Linked DNA regions of Homo sapiens: regions 2, 3 and 4 are each linked to region 1. The links are contacts of gene promoters, found by promoter capture Hi-C in human tissues and cell types (Jung and others, 2019). All regions are on one chromosome and are shown on one strand. The core of a region is centred on a gene start or on the middle of the fragment in contact, and the rest is flanking DNA. Distances in the headings are between cores, read along the strand shown. Region 1 holds the start of RAB36 (RAB36, member RAS oncogene family). Region 2 has its middle 30 kb from the start of TOP3B. Region 3 has its middle 49 kb from the start of TOP3B. Region 4 has its middle 71 kb from the start of TOP3B.

Region 1 (3,673 bases), core at 564-3,063:
TTGGTAAATATTGTCCACTGCCCCCTATGGAGGTTGTACTCAATTTGTATTCCCTGCTGCAATTAATATTGGATTTTAATACAGACACAAGAGAGCTGTGAGTTTTCAAGCTCATAGAGGCGGAATGGCAAGAGGAGAGAGCCCTGGATTTGGGGTCATGGAACTGGAATGCTGTTTTGATAACAACAACGATGATGAGAACAACAGCAACTATGACTGCAGGGGAGCTCCTGCATACCATGAGCCAGGCACCCAATATGAGAGGAATTACCTTCATGTAACAGTGGCTCTGAGAGGTTGAGTAATTTGCCCACAGCCACACAGCTTAATGACAGAATCAGAATGAAGGATTCACATCAAGGACTGTCTGGCTGCAAAATCCCAGCCCTTATAACCTCCAGGCCACACTGCTGCCCAGTGTCACCATTAACTTGCGGTCCCACCTTGGGCAGTCAGTGACCAGTCTCCCAGCTCCTCAAGGTAAATCTGACAATGGACAGACCTCCTTGATTCACCTGCTTTACTTCTAGGCATGAGTGTAGAGTGGGGAGAGCTGATGTGGCTGCAGGGCCAGGAGAGCACTGCAGACGTAATGACTCTCTACCTTAGGGAAGCTGGCGATGACACGGTCGCGGCTCACAGGGGGCCCCAAAGGTGTCAGGGAGGACCTCATTCTTCCACAGTCCTGTGGACCCAACCAGGAGAAAGACAGTTAAGGAGCTGTGCAAATACCTGGGGATTCACCCATGAGTTTCCACCTAACTTTTCATCAGATCCAGGCTGGGTGCAGTGGCTCATGCCTGTAATCCCAGCACTTTGGGAGGCCAAGGTGGGAGGATCACTTGGGCCCAGGAGGTTGAGACCAGCCTGGGCAACAAAGTGAAACCTCAGTCTCTACAAAAAAAAACCAAAAAAATTAGCAGGGCATGGTGGCCTGTGCCTGCAGTCCCAGCTACTTGGGAGGAAGGTGGGAGGAATGCTTGAGCCTGGGAGGTCAAGGGTGCAGTGAACCGTGAAGGTGCCACTGCACTCCAGCCTGGGTGATAGAGTAAGACCTTGTCTCAAGAATTATAAATAAAACCAGATCCAGGCTTCCCTCTCTGTCAGGAATATGGGGCAGAGGCCATTTCTCTCAATCTGCATACAGCAGGCAGCATGGTATGGGGGAACCAGGCCTGCCCCACCCTGCCTGGGAGTCAGAAGACCTGGGTCTCCCCTTGACAGGTGTCTACCAAGGAGGAGCTCCCCTCTGAGCTTACCTTACTGGGCTGTGAGGCATGGCACAGCTCAGGCAGTGGAAGTAGAGTGGGGAGGGGTCTCCTGCTCCCAGTCTGCAAAGGACGAAGGCTCTAGGTGGGCCTGGGGGCCTTAACTTTCAGCCAACTAGGCCTTTTCCCTGAAAACCCTCACTTCACCAGGCCTCTGACTCCTCGAGCCTCCTCAACAGCCCCTCTGTCTCCTTTTTCTGTCCGGACTCCTCTCCAGGCTGGGCTGGGGTGGTCCTGGCGGAGTCCGGTTGTCTTCCCGCATCTGACCTGGCTCTCCTCCACAACCAGCGCGGGCCTGGCCCAGAGTTTGCGCTCCGGAAATGAGGACGCCCCGGGGCCGCAGGCCGCTTTCAAGTTATAGGGGCGGGAAGTGGGCGCGGACGCTGTGCCCTCGCGGCCCTGGCCTCGGGATGTGCCAGCACGGGGTTGGGTGACCGGGAGGGTCGGACAGAGTGGGCGAGCTGACTCACCAGCGATGGCTGTGAAAGCTGGGGCTCCGCGCGGCCTGGTCCGCCTGAGCCAGCGGCGGCGATCACCATGGCAACGAGAGCCACGCGGGACCTGCGGGCTACACGAATCGTCGACGTCGTGGGCGGGGTCTGCGTTGGACTGGCAGCGGCGCGTCCAAGCATCCAGCTTGCACCGGCGATCACCATAGCAACGAGAACCTGCCTGGAGTCTGGGCGGGGCTGGCAGCAGAGAGACTCCTGGACACCCTGGAGAGCCGGAGATCACCATGACAACAAGGGCGGTGCTGGATGGGTGGGCGGTGGGCGGGGCTATGGAGGCCCGGGGGCGGAGCCTGAGCCCTGGGTGGGGCTGACCGTGGAGAGATTCGCGCAGGTTCTGGTGATCAGCTCGGCTGGGAGAGGTTGGGCGGTTATGGCATAAGAGCTCCTGATGTGGTATTGATGTTTAATTGGAGTCAAGCACCCTGCAGCTGCAGAAGATAGACCTGCCTACCATCTACTGACCTTAGTCTGCATAGTTCTGAATCCAGTGCTGTCTGAATATCATATGCCTGGCTTCTAGAGCTCACGGTACAAAATTAATTTCCTTAATAAAAAGCTGACCTGAGTCAGTGATTTCCTCTGAACTAGTTTCGGTTTGGAAAGTTAGCTGTTTTGGGCTAGATGGCCTCTTGTGGCCCTTATAAAACCGTGGAACCAGCTTCGAAGTCCGGGGTTCAGTTTGAGAACCTACTTAATTCAGCTCCTTAACTTTTCTGCATCACAATATGGAAGCCTTGGTACACAGATCTAACTCAGTCATCTTCAATTCAAAGCTAAGTGTGCTGGAGGCTGGTGTTTGATGTCTTTTTTTTTTTTTTTTAAAGAGATGGAGTCTTGCTATGTTGTCCAGGCTGGACTCGAACTCCTAGGCTCAAGGAATCCTCCCGCCTCAGCCTCCCCAGTCCTTGGGACTACAGGCAAGGGCCACCACACCTGGCTCTGTTTAATGTCTTTTAGTGAGTTTCACTGCTAAGGTTGAGGCTTAGGGGGTGAACTTAGGTGAGTTGTTCCACCTTCCGCACCTCAGTTTACTCAACTATAAAATAAACGCAACTATCTATTTCAATGGATCACCTGAGATGGTGAAAGTGCTTTTATACTGTAAAGCTTGATTCAAGTCCATTAACTATTCATTTGTCCTACATGTACTGAAAGCTTCCTGGTATATGCCTAGCACTGGGGAGACAAGGAAAGAGAACGGACATGGTGTCCACCCTCAGGGAAATTGGAGTCCACTGCGGGAAGCAGAGAAGTAAATAGAGAATTAGGGGAAGGGAGTGTGCCAATGGGATTTAGGAGAAGGGAAGATTAAGCTGTGGGGTCACTTACTAATTTGGATTTGGGGATTTGGCAGGAGCTAGAGATCACCCTGAACTCCTCCTTTAGCTGTTTTTTTTTTTTTTTTTTTTTTTTTTTTGAGATGGAGTCTCACTCTGTCGCCCAGGCTGGAGTGCAGTAGTGTGATCTCGGCTCACTGCAATCTCCGCCTCCCGGCTCAAGCGATTCTCCTGCCTCAGCCTCCCGAGTAGCTGGGACCACAGGTGCGCACCAACCATGCTTGGCTAATTTTTAAATTTTTTTAGTAGAGATGGGGTTTTGCCATGTGTGCCAGGCTGGTTTTGAACTCCTGGCCTCATGTGATCCGCCGGCCTTGGCTTCCCAAAGTGTTGGGATTACAGGCGTAAGCCAGCACACCTGGCCCCAATCCTCCTTTAGCTCTTAAGTGGGCTCTTTGCCTAGATCTAGAAACCAAACTGACACTGGGCAGATTAGCAAGAGAAAAGCATACAAGTGTTATTAGTTTTACATGCGCATGGGGATCTTTACCAGAGTGAAGTCTAGAGAAGTGGCCAAAGCAAGATGCTTTTATACTTTTTAGACAAAGGATGACAA
Region 2 (3,673 bases), core at 313-2,812, 1.1 Mb after region 1:
TGAGCTCAAGTGATCCTCCTGCCTCAGCCTCCCGATTGTTTTTTGTTTTGGTGGTGGGGGGAGGTTGGTAAAGACGGTCTCGTTTTATTACATAGGCTGTCTCAAATGCCTGGATTCAAGCAGTCCTCCCACCTCGACTTCCCAAAGTGCTGGGATTATAGGCATGGGCCACTGCACGCAGTCTGCAGTAAGTTTTGAAATTGGGAAATTGGGTTCTCCCAACTTTTGTTCTTTTTCAAGATTGTTTCAGCCATTTAGGATCCCTTGAAATTACATATCAATTTTAGGATGAGTTTTTCCATCTTTTGCCTAACACCGTAGAGATTTTTTTTTTTTTAAGATGAAGTCTCGCTGTGTTGCCCAGGCTGGAGTGCCATGGCGCAATCTTGGCTCACTGTAGTCTCTGTCTCCCGGGTTCAAGCGATTCTCCTGCCTCAGCCTCCCAAGTAGCTGGGATTACAGGTGTGCACCACCACTCCCAGCTAATTTTTGTATTTTTGGTAGAGACAAGGTTTTGCCATGTTAGCCAGACTGGTCTCAAACTCCTGACCTAAGGTGATCGCCTGCCTCAGCCTCCCAAAATACTGGGATTATCGGCGTGAGCCACCACACCCAGCCACACTATGGGGATTTTGATAGGGATTGCATTGAATCTGTAAGTCACTTTGGGTAGTGTATTCATGTCCTAGTGATGCCATAGAGAAGTACCCAACTGAGTGGCTTAAAACCAAAATTTGTTCTCAGAGTCCTAGAGGCTAGAAATGTGAAATTAGGTGTTAAAGAACCATACATCCTTTGAAATCTCTAGCAAAGGATCTTTCCTTGCCTATTACACCCTTTGGGTCTCTGCAGACATTCCTTGGCTTGTGGCAATGTAACTCCAACCTTTGCCTCCATCGTCACATGCTTGTCATCCCTCTCTCTTTGGGTCCAAATTTTTCTCCTCTTCTTTAGGGCTGAATAATATTCCATTGTGTATATATACCACATGTTCTTTATCCATTCGTCTGTCAATGAACACTTAGGTTGTTTCCGTTTCTTGGCTATTGTAAACAATACTGCAATAAATTACACTGCAGTGAACATGGGAGTGAAGATACCTCTTCTTGACAGTGATTTTATTCCTGTGGACACGTACCCAAAAATATGATTGCTGGATCATATGGTACTTCTACTTTTAATTTTTTGAGGAATCTTCATACTGTTTTTTCATAAAAGCTATATGAATTTATATTCCCAGTAATAATGTACAAGGGTTCCCTTTTCTCCATGTTCTCACCAACACTTGTTATCTTTTGACTTTTTTATAATAGCCATCCTAACAGGTATGAGGTGACATTTCACTGTGGCTTTAATTTGTATTTCTCTGATGATTAATGATGTTGAGCATATTTTCATGTATCTGTGGACTATTTACGTATCTTCTTTTGAAAAATGTCTATTTAGGTCCTTTATACTTTTTTTTTTTTTTTGAGATGGAGTTTTGCTCTTGTTGCCCAGGCTGCAGTGCAACGGTGCGATCTCAGCTCACTACAACCTCCGCCTCCCAGGTTCAAGCAATTCTCCTGCCTCAGCCTCCCGAGTAGCTGGAACTACAGGCACCCGCCACCATGCCCAGCTAATTTTTGTATTTTTAGTAGGGACGGGGTTTCACCATGTTGGCCCAGGCTGGTCTCGAACTCCTGACTTTGTGATCCACCTGCCTTGGCCTCCCAATGTGCTGGGATTACAGGCGTGAGCCACTGCACCAGGCCTATCCATTTCTTAATTGTTCTGTTTTTGCTGTTGAGTTGTATGAGTTCTTATATATTTCGGGGGGTTTTGTTTGTTTTGGTTTGGTTTTTTTTGAGACACAGTCTCACTGTATTACCCAGGCTGGAATGCAGTGGCACAATCTCAGTTCACTGCAACCTCTGCCTCCTGAGTTCAAGCTATTCTCCTACCTCAGCCTCCCGAGTAGCTGGGATTACAGGCGTGCGCCACCATGCCCGGCTAATTTTTTGTATTTTTAGTAGAGACGGGTTTTGCCATGTTAGCCAGGCTGATCTTGAACCCCTGGCCTCAGTGATCCACCCGCCTCAGCCTCCCAAGTGCTGGGATTTACAGGTGTGAACCACTGCATCCAGCCTGTAATTTTTTCTTGATAGCCCAACATGACGTATAGGATAAAAAGAACTGTAATAAATAGGCTTTTAGTAATATGGTAAGGTGTGAGGGGAGGAAAGTAGTCAGTATTTTCATGACTAGGTCTTGATCTTTTAGTGAGCTTGTGCCTCTGGACTGTGAACTTCACAGGTGCTTCCCAGTTCTTCTCCCCAGTTAGGTGGGAAAGGATGGCTACAGCTGGCTGGAGCTGAGGTTTTCTCTTCTTCCAGGTCATTAGGCTCTGATAAAACCCTAACAGGTTAGGTTCTGGTTAAATACAGTAAGTCCTCACTTAACATCAATAGGTTCTTGGAAACTATTGACTATGACTTTAAGCAAAACCAACTTTTTTTTCCTCATCACCATTGTAAGGAAATGACATTGAACAAATGGACATTATTCATGGCCATATGTATGTCATTTTGCTTAGAGTTGCAGTTTCCAAGAACCTAGTGATGACACTGAGGACTTACTGTAGTCTCTCTTGCACGTGTACCCTAAAACTTAAAGTATAATAATAATAATTTTTAAAAAATAATAAAAATAATTAAAAAAAAGAACAGAACTGGCCAGGTGCAATGGCTCATGCCTGTAATCCTAACACTCTGGGAGGCTGAGGCAGGAGGACTGCTTGAGATCAGGAATTCAAGACCAGCCTGGGAAACATGGCAAAACCCTGTCTCTACAAAATAATAATAATAATAATAAAATAATTTAAAAAGAACAGAATTGGCCGGGCGCGGTGGCTCACGCCTGTAATCCCAACACTCTGGGAGGCCAAGGCAGGCGGATCACGAGGTCAGGAGATCGAGACCATCCTGGCTAACATGGTGAAACCCTGTCTCTACTAAAAATACAAAAAAAAAGAGAAATAGCCAGGCATGGTGGCGGGCGCCTGTAGTCCCAGCTGCTCAGGAGGCTGAGGCAGGAGAATGGTGTGAACTCGGGAGGCGGGGCTTGTAGTGAGCCCAGATCGTGCCACTGCACTCCAGCCTGGGCAACCGAGCAAGACGCCGTCTCAAAAAAAAAAGAAAAAAAAACAGAATTATCTGGAATGTTTCAAAATCATTTTTCCTCTCTCTACCAAAGCCTGAGAGTTCTCTCTGATATTTACTGTGAGAACTGGTAGAGCTTCAGGAAGTAAAACTCAGAAAAGTGAGGCCCACCCAATAGCTGGGTCCCCCTGGAGTTATCTCTCAGATATATCTACACTGAGCCTCCAGTAATTCATCGATTACAATTCAGTTTTCTCTACCCAGCACTGATTCCTGTGGAGGTTCCTGCTCATGGGTTTCTGCTCTGGTAAATTGTAATTCTCTGTATCTGCCCATCTGTATCTTCAATCTGGGGGGAAACAGTTTGCCCTGTGGCCTCACTTCTCTTGCGGATCTAAGAAGAACTGATTTTTCAGTTTGTTCAGCTTACTACTTGTTAGGATGGAGTGATGACTTCCAAGCTTCTTATATTTCAGACCAGAAACCAGAAGCCTCGCTTTTTCTTTTTAATCTACGAAAGGTATCTCCATGAT
Region 3 (3,673 bases), core at 639-3,138, 1.1 Mb after region 1:
TCATGCTTGCTGTCTCCTTGTTCATCTTCTTTGAGGCATCTGGACTTTTCTTCATAAACTTGAGTCAGATCCTGTGTCTTCCTTGCCCAACCTTCTGATGGCTCCTCTACCCCCAACTGAGCTCTCCTCACTGTGTGATGACATCATATTGTCGCATTGACATTTTTACTTGATTGCCTTATCTGTTCCACCACTCAGTGTCAGCTCCATGAGGACAGGGCCCCTTCCTCTCTTGTTCATCATGTACCTTGAATCCCTGGATCTGAGGCTGGTGCATAGTAGCTTCTCAGTGAATGAGGTGGATAAACAGACCTTTGGGAGTCGACTATCCTGAGTCAGACACAATGACCCTGGTCCTGTTTTGACCCATTATGGATTTGGTTTCCAGGACAGCCTGATCTTGGTATTGAGGGATTTCTCTTAATATGAGACAATACGACAATTTGTTACTGCCAAGGGTTGGGTGTGAGGGTAGAATTGAGAGGACAGAAACACATTCTCCACACTGCGTTCACTGGAGTGAGTTTTAAAATCTAAATTTTTACTAAACAAATGAAAAGCAACGTTAATCAGCTGACTTGCCCAAGAAGTGGGGGCTGCACAGAGAAGCTCCATTGCTGGATGGGCAGCAGCTTTTTCTCCCACTTCCCCACTGGCCTGAAGTACTGCCTGAGCCTTGGTGCTTGTGTCCCAAGCTGAGAATAAAAATCAGCCTTTTCCTCTGCCTGGAGTCCAGAGATGCTCAGAGAGGCCATGTTCTCCAACCTGGAGCCTCAGCATTGGGCCTATGCCCCTAAGGGTCAATGACTGCTTTTATATATGTGGAGCTCTGGGTCTCTCGGAGGCATGTTTGTACCAGAGCACATGCCCGTGCCCAACATTGCTGCTGCTTCTAGTGCAGGAGCTGGTACCCACCTGCCCCACAGATGCATGCACTGCAGGTGGCTGGGTCAGCACAGGCTGGGCTCAGGACGCTGGACATTAAGACAGACACAGGGTGAGAGGTGGGTCAGTGGACAGAGACACATGCATAAACCTTGGTCTTTTGATCACCAGCCCTGACACTGAGCCCTAGCCACCTGTGCAGTGAAGGAGAAGGCGGGGGAGAGACCACAGTGGAGACCCATACATAGCTCTACATCCTGAGGATCATCAACTGAGCCTGGGCTCTCCAAGTCCCTTGTACTCCCTCCAGCAGCTCAGGGTGAGGAGGGCATCCTTCATACCAACCAGCCTCCTCCCCTGGGCTGTCCAAGCCCTTTCCTGGGCCATGACTTCGATCCCTCCCTGAAAAGCTGACACATGAAGAGGATGGTCTTGGTTGATGCTGTTCTGTGGCTCCCTGGGGGCCTATAAGGAAACAGCTGCTGGTCTTGTGAGCAGGGGGTAGAGGGCTCCAGCCCAGGGTCAGGGAGTGGCTCTCGTATGGGGTCTCCAGCACAAGATTTAGGGACAGACCACAGAACAGCCTACTGCTTGAGGTCCAGATGCACCCATGTATCCTGTCTCCTCCACTGTTCACTTTGTCATCCCCAAGAAGGATGGAGATGGGCAGTGTTTAGGCCATAACACACCTTAGTCTCACATCTCCACAGACCCTCCTTCCTGGATATACTTGCTTAGCTCACTGTGAGGTTTATAGGGCAGTTCTGGGAGGCTGGACTCCCTGAGGAGCCTCCACTAGGGGACATCAGAGCAGGAAGCCCAATGGGGACAGGGCTCCCTCCAGGACACAGGGAGCTGCTCCCTCTTTCTTCTCCCTGGGCTGTCTAGAGCCTGCACCCAGACTGCCTTGCTTCTCTCTGGGCCTATTTCTTCTTCTCAGCCCCTCAAGAAATTTGATTGCAGAAAAGGAAAAGATTAAAAAATAAATTTAAAAATATTTGCCAGCACCAGGCATAAATTCTAGGGCAATATGACACCAAGTGCAATTTTGAGAGGAGAGAGGGGAGCCCTAGGTAGGCTTCTGATTCCTAATTATCCTTCCTTATTTGGGCACTAAGAGGCAAATAACATCTTTCAAAGGGCAGGGTCAGCACTCTCTAAATCTGTCCTGAGTACATGGAATGATGACTCTTTCAGGATTTGGAAACAATTTCTAAGGCTCATTTTTCTTCTGTCAAGAGAAAATGGTTAGCTCCACAGGCACTGAATTCAGCATATTTGGAAAATTAGGTAATATTTCATAGTCATCATGATATTTTTGTTTCTGTTTTTAGTTTTCCTGAGACTTCAGAAAACTTGAATGAGAAATTGAGAGTAGAAACATTTTAAACCAGACGGTGCTTCCAAGTGGAGTGTGTACATATAAAACATATTTGAAAATTTAAAACTTGTCATATAACAAGACCCTGAGCAGGCTGAGGTTTCTGTCCCACTTCCTCATCTGCCTGTGTCACTGTGTGAATGCCAGTGCCCCAGGTCTGACAGTAATAGTCAGCCTCATCCTCAGACTGGAGGCTGGAGATGGTGAGGTAGCGCTCAGCCCCAGAGCTGGAGCCTGAGAAGCGATCAGGGATCCCGTCCCCCTTGCTGTGGCTGCCATCACTGTTAAGCTTCATCAAGTACCGAGGGCCCTTCTCTGGCTGCTGCTGATGCCATGCGATGGCGTAGCTGCTGTGCCCACTGCTCAGAGTGCAGGTGAGCTTGACCGAGGCTCCCAGGGAGGCAGAGGCAGAGGGCGATTGAGTCAGCACAAGCTGGGAGAGAGACCCTGAAAACACAGACACCCATTACCGGCTGGAGTCAAGAAAAGAGGGAAGGACATTCCTGGCATAAGTTTGGGAGGTGGTATCAGTGAGCTGGAGGTCAGGGTGCTGAGGGCCATCCTGACCTGTGCAGTGGAGGAGGAGGGTGAGGAAGAGGAGTGGGGTCCAAGCCATGGTGCAGACTCCCCAGAGCTCTGCTGAGGCTGACAGTTGCAGGTATTTCTTACCCACCCTGTAGTCCCAGAGGAGAGAGAGGGGCCCTTCATGCAAATGTGCTCCTCTTCCTCTGCCCAACCAAATCACTCCGTGTGCCTGAGTGTCAGTCCCAGTGGTGGGGTGACATTTCTGGGAGGGGTTACCTGGGCTGGGCCTGGCCTGAGGCTCTCCAAGGGTGCAGAGAGAGCCCAGCTGCTGGCCCCAGTGAACCCTGCGTGGAGACCAAGTTCAAGTGTTTGGTTTCCCAGCTGAGAAACCCACAGAGCCCTCAGCAGCAGACCAACAGCACCCCCTTCTGCCTAGGCCCAGGTCCATCGTGTCTGTGACCAGATGCCAGTGGGTCCTGACAGAGGCTTCTGCCCGGACCAGGGCCTTGACCACGGCCTGTTCTCTGTCCAAGGGCAAAGTGGGACCCCTCGTCAGGGCAGCCTCCTATTTTATTTCAGACTTTAGTTTTCCATTTAGCCCTTTTCAGTGGGAGCGGGACACATGATCCACCCCACTTTGCAAAAGTCCTCAGGAGAAAGGTGTCTCTCATACACGTTCTATTTGGTAGGTGTAATGGGATAATTTACATTGACTGGAACAGAATGTCTCCATTCTGCAGTAATGGAGATGTTGTGAGAATGGATCGGACTGTTGGCTACATGAGCATCTGCATTTGTAAAAACCATCAAACTGTATAATTAAGACCTGTGAATTTTACTTTATATAAGTTATCTTTCTATATAATAAACAGAAAAAATAGG
Region 4 (3,673 bases), core at 527-3,026, 1.1 Mb after region 1:
AAGACACACATAGGCTCAAAATAAAGGGATGGAGGAAGATCTACCAAGCAAATGGAAAGCAAAAAAAAAGCAGGGGTTGCAATCCTAGTCTTTGATAAAACAGACTTTAAACCAACAAAGATCAAAAGAGACAAAGAAAGCCACTACATAATAGTAAAGGGATCAATTCAACAAGAAGAGCTAACTATCCTAAATATATATGCACCCAATACAGGAGCACCCAGATTCATAAAGCAAGTCCTTAGAGACCTACAAAGAGACTTAGACTCCCACACAATAATAATGGAAGGCTTTAACATCCTACTGTCAATGTTAGACAGATCAATGAGACAGAAGGTTAACAAGGATATCCAGGACTTGAGCTCAGCTCTGGACCATGCAGACCTAATAGACACCTACAGAACTCTACACCCCAAATCAACAGAATATGCATTCTTCTCAGCACCACATCGCACTTATTCTAAAATTGACCACATAATTGGTAGTAAAACACTCCTCAGCAAATGTAAAAGAAAAGAAATCACAAAAAACTGTCTCTCGGACCACAGTGCAATCAAACTAGAACTCAGGATTAAGAAACTCACTCAAAACCACTCAACTAATGGAAACTGAAAAACCTGCTCCTGAATGACTACTGGGTACATAACGAAATGAAGGCAGAAATAAAGACGTTATTTGAAACCAATGAGAACAAAGACACAACGTACTAGAATCTCTGGGACACGTTTAAAGCAGTGTGTAGAGGGAAATTTATAGCACTAAATGCCAACAAGAGAAAGCAGGAAAGATCTCAAATCGACACCCTAACATCACAATTAAAAGAATTAGAGAAGCAAGAGCAAACACATTCAAAAGCTAGTAGAAGGCAAGACATAACTAAGATCAGAGCAGAACTGAAGGAGATAGAGACACAAAAAACCCTTCAAAAAATCAATGAATCCAGGAGCTGGTTTTTTGAAAAGATCAACAAAATTGATAAACCGCTAGCAACACTAATAAAGAAGAAAAGAGAGAAGAATCAAATAGACACAACAAAAAATGATAAAGGAGATATCACCACCCATCCCACAGAAATACAAACTGCCATCAGAATACTATAAGAACCTCTACACAAGAAAACTAGAAAATCTAGAAGAAATGGATAAATTCCTGTACACATACACCCTCCCAAGACTAAACCAGGAAGAGGCTGAATCTCTTAATAGACCAATAACAGGTTCTGAAATTGAGGCAATAATTGATAGCCTACCAACCAAAAAAAGTCCAGGACCAGACAGACTCACAGCCGAATTCTACCAGAGGTACAAAGAGGAGCTGGTACCATTCCTTCTAAAACTATTTCAATCAATAGAAAAAGAGGGAATCCTCCCTAACTCATTTTAGGAGGCTAGCATCATCTTGATACCAAAGCCTGGTAGAGACACAACAAAAAAAGAGAATTTTAGGCCAATATCCCTGATGAACATTGATGCGAAAATCCTCAATAAAATACTGGCAAACCAAATCCAACAGCACATCAAAAAGGTTATCCACCACGATCAAGTCAGCTTCATCCCTAGGATGCAAGGCTGGTTCAACATATGCAAATCAATAAATGTAATCCATCACATAAACAGAACCAGCGACAAAAACCACATGATTACCTCAATAGATGCAGAAAAGGCCTTCGACAAAATTCAACAGCCCTTCATGCTAAAAACTCTCAATAAACTAGGTATTGATGGAATATATCTCAAAATAATAAGAGCTATTTATGACAAACCCACAGCCAATATCATACTGAATGGGCAAAAACTGGAAGCATTCTGTTTGAAAACCAGCACAAGACAAGGATGCCCTCTCCTATTCAACACAGTGTTGGAAGTTCTGGCTAGAGCAATCAGGCAAGAGAAAGAAATAAAGGGTATTCAACTGGGAAAAGACGAAGTCAAATTGTCTCCGTTTGCAGATGACAAGATTGTATATTTGGAAAACCCCATCATCTCAGCCCAAAATCTCCATAAGCTAATTAGCAACTTCAGTAAGGTCACAGGATACAAAATCAATGTGCAAAAATCACAAGCATTCCTATACACCAATAGTAGACTAACAGAGAGCCAAATCATGAGTGAACTCCCACTCACAATTAATACAAAGAGAATAAAATACCTAGGAATCCAACTTACAAGGAATGTGAAGGACCTCTTCAAGGAGAACTACAAACCACTGCTCGATGAAATAAAAGGGGACACAAACAAATGGAAGAACATTCCATGCTCATAGATAAGAATAACCAATATCATGAAAATGGCCATACTGCCCAAGGTAATTTATAGATTCAATGCTATCCCCATCAAGCTACCACTGACTTTCTTCACAGAATTGGAAAAAACTACTTTAAAGTTCATATGGAACCTAAAAAGAGCCTGCATAGCCAAGACAATCCTAAGCAAAAAGAACAAAGCTGGAGGCATCATGCTACCTGACTTCAAACTATACTACAAGTCTACAGTAACCAAAACAGCATGGTACTGGTACCAAAACATATATATAGACGAATGGAACAGAACAGAGGCCTCAGAAATAACACCACGCATCTACAATCATCTGATTTTTGACAAACCTGACTAAAAAAAGCAATGAGGAAAGGATTCCCCCTTTAATAAATGGTGCTGGGAAAACTGGCTAGCCATATGTAGAAAGCTGAAACTGGATGTCTTCCTTACACAGTATACAAAAATTAACTCAAGATGGATTAAAGACTTGAATGAAGACCTAACACCATGGCCGGGCACGGTGGCTCACGCCTGTAATCCCAGCACTTTGGGAGGCCGAGGCGGGCAGATCACAAGGTCAGGAGATCGAGACCATCCTGGGTAACACGGTGAAACCACGTCTCTATTTAAAAATACAAAAAAAAATTAGCCGGGCGCAGTGGCAGGTGCCTGTAGTCCCAGCTACTTGGGAGGCTGAGGCAAGAGAATGCAGGAACCCGGGAGGCGGAGCTTGCAGTGAGCCGAGATCACGCCACTGTACTCCAGCCTGGGCTACAGAGCGAGACTCTGTCTCAAAGAAAAAAAAAAAAAAAAGACCTAACACCATAAAAAACCCTAGAAGAAAACCTAGGCAATACCATTCAGGACATTGGCATGGGCAAAGACTTCATGACTAAAATACCAAAAGCAATGGCAACAAAAGCCAAAATTGACAAGTGGGATCTAATTAAACTAAAGAGCTTCTGCACAGCAAAAGAAGCTATTATCAGAGTGAACAGGCAACCTACAGAATGGGAGAAAATCTTTGCAATCTACCCACCTGACAAAGGGCTAATATCCAGAATCTACAAAGAACTTAAACAAATTTACAAGAAAAAGCAAACAACCCCATTGAAAAGTGGGTAAAAGATATGAACAAACACTTCTCAAAATAAGACATTTATGCAGCCAACAGACATGAAAAAATGCTCATCATCACTGGTCATCAGATAAATACAAATCAAAACCACAATGAGATACCATTTCACACCAGTTAGAATGTTGATCATTAAAAAGTTAGGAAACAACAGATGCTGGAGAGGATGTGGAGAAATAGGAACGCTTTTACACTGTTGGTGGGACTGTAAACTAGTTCAACCATTGTGGAAGACAGTGTGGTGATTCCTCAAGGATCTAGAACTAGAAATACCATTTGACTC

Evidence for each region. The method cuts DNA at HindIII sites, captures the fragments that hold promoters and counts their contacts. A contact is called where the count stands out against the background at its distance.
Region 2: a contact is called between a fragment that was not itself captured here and the fragment with the promoter of RAB36 in region 1, in 2 of the 25 tissues and cell types used here (hippocampus and lymphoblastoid cells).
Region 3: a fragment that was not itself captured here is called in contact with the fragment with the promoter of RAB36 in region 1 in 1 of the 25 tissues and cell types used here (lymphoblastoid cells).
Region 4: a contact is called between a fragment that was not itself captured here and the fragment with the promoter of RAB36 in region 1, in 1 of the 25 tissues and cell types used here (hippocampus).

The regions. Positions count from the first base shown.
Region 1 is chr22:23,143,617-23,147,289 of GRCh38, reverse strand. It overlaps RAB36 (RAB36, member RAS oncogene family), which reads right to left and starts at 1,813. Exons shown (of 11, transcript NM_004914.5): 1 at 1,739-1,813; 2 at 605-685. The coding sequence starts at 673. It also overlaps a transcript of RSPH14 not described here. RefSeq lists a silencer at 1,991-2,060. The HindIII fragment of the contact is 15,551 bases long and covers 1-3,673 here.
Region 2 is chr22:22,011,043-22,014,715 of GRCh38, reverse strand. It overlaps the pseudogene PRAMENP. Among named protein-coding and RNA genes, the nearest start is that of TOP3B, 30 kb to the right of the region's middle. The HindIII fragment of the contact is 6,044 bases long and covers 1-3,673 here.
Region 3 is chr22:22,030,203-22,033,875 of GRCh38, reverse strand. It overlaps the pseudogene PRAMENP, IGL, IGLV4-69 and the pseudogene IGLVI-68. Among named protein-coding and RNA genes, the nearest start is that of TOP3B, 49 kb to the right of the region's middle. RefSeq lists a silencer at 2,352-2,471 and enhancers at 2,542-2,601, 2,742-2,821, 2,119-2,898, 3,262-3,521, 2,899-3,673. The HindIII fragment of the contact is 9,029 bases long and covers 1-3,673 here.
Region 4 is chr22:22,051,494-22,055,166 of GRCh38, reverse strand. It overlaps IGL. Among named protein-coding and RNA genes, the nearest start is that of TOP3B, 71 kb to the right of the region's middle. The HindIII fragment of the contact is 5,123 bases long and covers 1-3,673 here.